2 separate regions of the Homo sapiens genome follow, and region 2 is linked to region 1. The links are contacts of gene promoters, found by promoter capture Hi-C in blood cells and fetal thymus (Javierre and others, 2016). All regions are on one chromosome and are shown on one strand. Each heading gives the region's core, a stretch centred on a gene start or on the middle of the fragment in contact. The rest is flanking DNA. Distances are from core to core; before and after follow the strand shown. Region 1 holds the start of TCEAL7 (transcription elongation factor A like 7). Region 2 overlaps LINC00630 (long intergenic non-protein coding RNA 630).

What was found. The method cuts DNA at HindIII sites, captures the fragments that hold promoters and counts their contacts. A CHiCAGO score of 5 or more calls a contact.
Region 2: a contact is called between a fragment that was not itself captured here and the fragment with the promoter of TCEAL7 in region 1, in 1 of 17 cell types (erythroblasts). The highest score is 5.0, in erythroblasts.

Annotation. Positions count from the first base shown.
Region 1 is chrX:103,328,766-103,331,681 of GRCh38, forward strand. TCEAL7 (transcription elongation factor A like 7) reads left to right here and starts at 1,474. Exons shown (of 3, transcript NM_152278.5): 1 at 1,474-1,539; 2 at 2,158-2,275; 3 at 2,612-2,916. The coding sequence starts at 2,639. RefSeq lists an enhancer at 1,990-2,489. The HindIII fragment of the contact is 8,380 bases long and covers 1-2,916 here.
Region 2 is chrX:102,960,001-102,962,919 of GRCh38, forward strand. LINC00630 (long intergenic non-protein coding RNA 630) reads left to right here. Exons shown (of 12, transcript NR_146589.1): 12 at 1,606-2,919. Among named protein-coding and RNA genes, the nearest start is that of RAB40AL, 24 kb to the left of the region's middle. The HindIII fragment of the contact is 906 bases long and covers 934-1,839 here.

The DNA.
Region 1 (2,916 bases), core at 224-2,723:
CTTCAACACCCGAATCCTTCAGCCATTTTATAACTCTGAGTCTAACCATCTGCATGAAAAGCTGTTCACAGAGGATTCAGGAATTTTTCTCCCCACAAACGAATTTTTTGCCTCTATCACAACTAGTCATTCCTTAATAACTGTGACAATGATGCTCTACTGTTTTTAAGACTTTTTTCTGACCACTGAACTTTTTTCTGGAGTCATTTATATCAAACTGATTAGTGGTAACTTTATATTCATAATGAGCTGCAATCTTCCTAAAAACAACTTATGAGAAGTTTACACATCTCCCTTTCTATTGCATATATTTCAAGCTAACAAATCAAGAGCAAATCTACTTAGACAAGTACCCAAATCCTTAGCAACAAAAAGTTTAGTGTGTTGGGTGGCTAAATGTGACTAATTTTTGTTAGTACTACAAGTAGCTTTCAATACATCAGTATGGCTAAATAAGGTCATGGAAAACATAAATAGGATGGAGATGTCTAGGGAAAATGAAAAACTATTCTTTTCTGAATGAGAGTGTTGAAAAAAGTTGGGATATTAGGGGTACAGTATTGAAGAAAAAAGGGTTATGTGTATGGTATAAACTGGAAGAAAGAGGGCATGATACTGAGCTCAAACTAGTTAAAATTTGTGACTTACAGTTGCGATCTGGAAATCTAAGGGCAAGGTGCTGTAGGATTATGGTCTCAGTGACTCACCTAATGGAAGGACCTCACATGCCCGGGAGCCCCTCAAAAGAGTAGGTTCCAACTGACCTGTACATCTTAAACTTCAAAAAATATGTCTGCCTAAAGGGTCTATATTTATATTATGACTTCAGCAGCAGAAACAGGTGGCTGGCCTTTTTATCCTCCTATCTGGAATCTTTTTCCAAATGTACATATCTTTATCATATTTCTGATTATTAAAAGTATATAATAAGTTTATGGAAAAATTGGAAAAGAATAAGAAATTATCAAAACAAAAGTAAGAAGCACAATCCAAATCATTACCTCCTTTCCTAATTCACCCCATTCCCTCCAATCTGGTTTCAAGGATTGGACTCCAAGGGAAATGATGGCTATTAGTGGCTGAGAGGCGATTGGATGGAGGAGACTGCCACTTTTCTTTTCTTGTAGCTTAGAAAAGGATAAGTAATCCTCCCTCTCAGCACAACCACAAAAAAAGTAACAATGGTTAATATAACTTTGGGAAAATGCAGCCCCTCCCTGGTAATCAGAGAAAGGCAAATTCTGACCACAGGGAGAAGGCGCCACTTTTGACCTCTGGAATTAGCAAAGACAAAAATGAGTGACAGGGCCTGGTGTGGTGTGGGGTGGGAGGTTGGTAAGCCGGTCCACTTCTGCAGCGCTGCTGGTGGGAGGGGAAAGTGGGGACCAGAGATGGGGGATGACATAATCCTCACGTGATCAGGAGCTGACGTGAACCGAAGTCCTTATATTCCCGGGCTTCTTTCTCCTCTGGGTACCAGCTCCTTACTGCCCTGCAGACAAGCGTGCCGTGCGTGCTTGTGGCCAAGGGAAGGAAGAGGTAAATTCCTTAAATCCCAGCAGGTTGGAGTGAAGGAACCACTGGACCCCCGGGGTCAGTAGTGGGTGAATCTAATGACTGGAATAGGTCCAGACTTGCTTTCCCAAAACCGCTGCAAAATCGTCGGAGATAATTGTATCTTTTGCAGGGGGAAGCAAGGGGGTAGGTCGAAATCTTTTGAGAGACACCTAGAGATTTAGTGACAGCTTTGAAATAATCGGCTTCTCTCACCCTGGCATGCTTTCTTTTTATCCTTCTCCTCATCTTTCTCCAATTTTGTTAAGAGAAAATTTTAGGCCTGGGGTATGTGTTGGTGTGTGGAGAAAGGCTGAAATCCCGGGATGGAGACAACAGAAATTTAGAGATCATTTGAAAATAGTTCACCTCACTCAATGCCGGCCTGTGGTGGTGGGGTGGGGCGCGGGACGGGGCGAAGGAGGGAGACGCGGGCCTTGCAAGGCCCAGGCCTGAGGGTGAGGAGTGGGGAGTGGAAACGGAAATCCTGAAGGAAAGGATACAGACAGGAAGGAGGGGCCAGGAGGTAGAAATCCGGGGGGCGATGACGGTGATGATGAGAATCCCAGGTTCAAAATAATAACGTCTGTCTTGTCTCTGGAGCTGGTTGATCCACAGATAGCTCCTTCCTCCCCGCCCCTTCCTTTTTGTTTGGAGGTCCCAGGATCTGTGTTCACAGACATCTGGGGGAAGAAAAGGAGCAGGAAACTACCCCGCACAGGTCAGTATGAGAGAGGCACTTAGACTGAGATCTCTGAGGATAGGAGTCGGGAAGGGGCAAAAGCTAGGCGAAATTTGCGGCTTCGCAGTCCATCTCCTTTTCTGCTCCGCCTCTCCTGCCTATTGGAGAGGCCATTAGCTTTGTCTGCTGGGGAAACGGTGGGTTCCTGAGGTGGGAGGGGAGAAAAGGGGGAGATGAGAGGGTGGAGGGAACTGCCGCAGACTTATGAGGTCTGGACCTGTGGGGCAGAGATGGGAAAGTATCTTGCCTCAGAGAGAAACTGACAATCGTGATTCAAAAGTAATGAAGCAATTTGTCTTTACATTTTCTCCCTAGAGTTAAGCAGGAAACAACAACAACATCATGCAAAAACCCTGCAAAGAAAACGAAGGAAAGCCAAAGTGCAGCGTGCCAAAGAGGGAGGAAAAACGCCCGTATGGAGAATTTGAACGCCAGCAAACAGAAGGGAATTTTAGACAGAGGCTGCTTCAGTCTCTCGAAGAATTTAAAGAGGACATAGACTATAGGCATTTTAAAGATGAAGAAATGACAAGGGAGGGAGATGAGATGGAAAGGTGTTTGGAAGAGATAAGGGGTCTGAGAAAGAAATTTAGGGCTCTGCATTCTAACCATAGGCATTC
Region 2 (2,919 bases), core at 137-2,636, 370 kb before region 1:
GCAATGAGAGGGGCTGTGGGTTGTCTCTGTGATTTCCTCCCTAGAGAATGACAGAGCTGCCACTGACTTAAATGTTTGGGCGGGGACAAGGTGGTTGTTCTGGGGGCCTGGGTAGAGAGACCCTGCCCACTGAGGAGTAACAGGGCCAGGGCCCATGTGGAAGAGAGTCTGCCTTCTTATCTAAAAAGCAGCTGCACTGTGCTGGAGGATTGCATTAGTCCTAAGTCTTTTGGCTCCCTCCTGAGCCTGAGGGAAACAGGAGCAGGAGCTGCAGAGCAGCAAAAATGGCAGACCTGCCTGCTACAATTGAGAGCTCTGTCCCAGGGAAGTACAGATCCCCCAGGGGGATCTGCTACTGGCCCAAGAGCCCAGACATGGGTGGGGTGGCTGGAGTCCCAAGTCTGGAGGCCCTGCCCAGTAAGAAGTAGTGGGGACAGAGATCTATGTGGAAAAAAGTCTGGCCACTTTTCTGTAAGGCAGCTGTGCTGTGCTGGGGGCCTGCATTAGTCCTTAATCACCCTGCCAAGACTGGGGGACCCGTCTGCTACCACTGAGAGCTCCATTCCAGGGAAATACAGGGCTGCTATTGGCTCTAGAGCTCAAGTGAGGCTGGAGTGGCCATGCTAGGGACCCAGCCAAGTGGGCATTATCCAGCAAGGTGCAATGGAGGTGAGGCCTGCAGTCCATCTGCTCCTCAGCCCCGTGGATTTAGCCCCTATACTGGAGGCATTCCAGGGAGCCTGGCCTCTCTTGTTGCCAGAGCTACAGCCACTGGTGCTGGGGTGCCCAGCAGTCCAAGGGCCCTGGAGCTCCATGTGTGCCTGAGCAGTGGCTCTGCCTAGACTCCATGTAGCTCTCCATGTCAGTCTGCAGGCTCTGCTCAGGGAGTCAAGGGGATCTTCTGAGCACAGGGTTGTGAAGATCTGTAGCAGAAGCTTTAGTGAAATTTCAGACATTAACAACAAAGTTTCCCTGATTTATTTAACTTCTCCTAACTTTCTATAACCTGATATAAAATGGACATTTAATTATAAATTACTTGAGTAAAGGTTAAGATTAATGAAAATACTACTCAAGTAACTTATAATTAAATGCCCATTATCATCATCAGCATCATCATCTAAAGGGGTTATTGAGTAGGCATCCATGGGGTGGTGTGAAATGACCAGCCCCTAAGCCTTGGTGGCCCATTATCTACAGAAGATATCACTGGGCACATTAAATGTTTCCCAATCTTCTTTCGTTATCCAAAGGAGCCTTATTAGACATGTTTTTCCTCCTTATTAGTCCCTTCTTGCCTGAAATGTGAAATTTTAATACCACAGATATAGTGTTAACTGTTTATGTATTTTGGTCCTATGTAGTGCCACAAACCATTTTAATGTCTACTATCTCCCTACCCTTAAAAACCAATTCTCAGCCCCTTGGGGGCAATATATCCTCTGTTGAAAATGCATGGAACATTTTAAAGAGGACAAAAGCTGGAACCTCATTCCTGCCTTTTACTTGATGTGTGACACTGGAAAACTTCCTTAACCTCTGTCAGCTTGCCCATGGTCATCCGGAAAAGGGAACCACTGAGAGCTCATGATGTGTTACTTACAGAACTGTCCTGTGGGGTAAATGAGAAATCCTATACAGAGAAGATGGCACCTAGAGAAATCCTATACAGAGAAGATGGCACCTAGTCTTCAACAAATATTCATCCTGGCCCACTTTTCTTCTCCTTCCCAGAGAAGTGATGACTGTCATCTAAACCAAACAGCATAACTACCACAGAGACCAGCTGGTAATGGAGCAGGAAGAAGTAGCATATACTTACATTTAGTTTATAAATGAAGCTTTGGGGCTATTTCTGTGATGCAGGATGGCTTTGCCAAGGAATGTGGGAAGAGGGAAAAGATCATCAAACCATTTCTTTAATTCTGTGTCATTTTTGCCCCATTATTTGAGCTTCTATACTGATATTGGAAAAATAGTTTCCTATGGAGTGTCAAATAAAGAAAGAGTGCAGATAAAGAGGAGAGAGAAGTCACATGCCCTTGACCCTCATACCATTACCACCTACAGGACTCTGAACCAGAATTTCATCTGCACCAGTGGGTAATTCAAAGTGGGAGGAGTTGTTGAATGTGTATCCATGAAGGCACAATACTACAAACGTGTAAAACTACTAGGTTTTAAATCCTAGAATGTCATGGTGTATAAAATATTGATAATTATTGCTTTGGTTTTGAATTAGGGGAAAATATATCCTCGTATACTTGGAAGTGGCTCCCTCAGTATCTTTTATTCTTGAGCTTCAGGGATATTCTTCATTCTAAATGTGTATCTCTTTCCTGTGGGTGGGGTAAGGAATGCTTGAATGTTCCTGACAATGTTTTTGTATAATTGCAGGAGCATTTGATATTTATTACAGTTATAAATACATAAGAAATGAAATAAACAGCATTACTCTAAAACAAAAGAGAATACCTGCTCTCAAAATATCTTGAGTATTTCAAAGAGAATACCTGCTAATGCTTATATCTGTATAATATTCTTTCACAAATTTTCTTATGCAGGTACTTATAAATTTATGCAGAAATGAATACATTTATATACTTATCTACAAAATATAAGATCTCATTCTACATTTAGTTTTATAACCTGCTTGTCTCACTAAAACCATACCTCAAAGGTCATTGGTTGTGAGTAAATATGAGTCTTTACCACAGAGATAGTAAATACTAATGGCCAATAAAGACAGAGAAACAAATATGGCTACAATATGTTATGTGCCAAGTGCTTTTTAGCTACTGAGTCGTTCAATTCTCACGGCACCCTTACAAGGTTGAAACTGTTGCTGATCTCCATTTTGTAGATGGAAAACTAAGGAGCAGATAGAATAAAAATTTTACCTGAGACTGCACAGTTAGG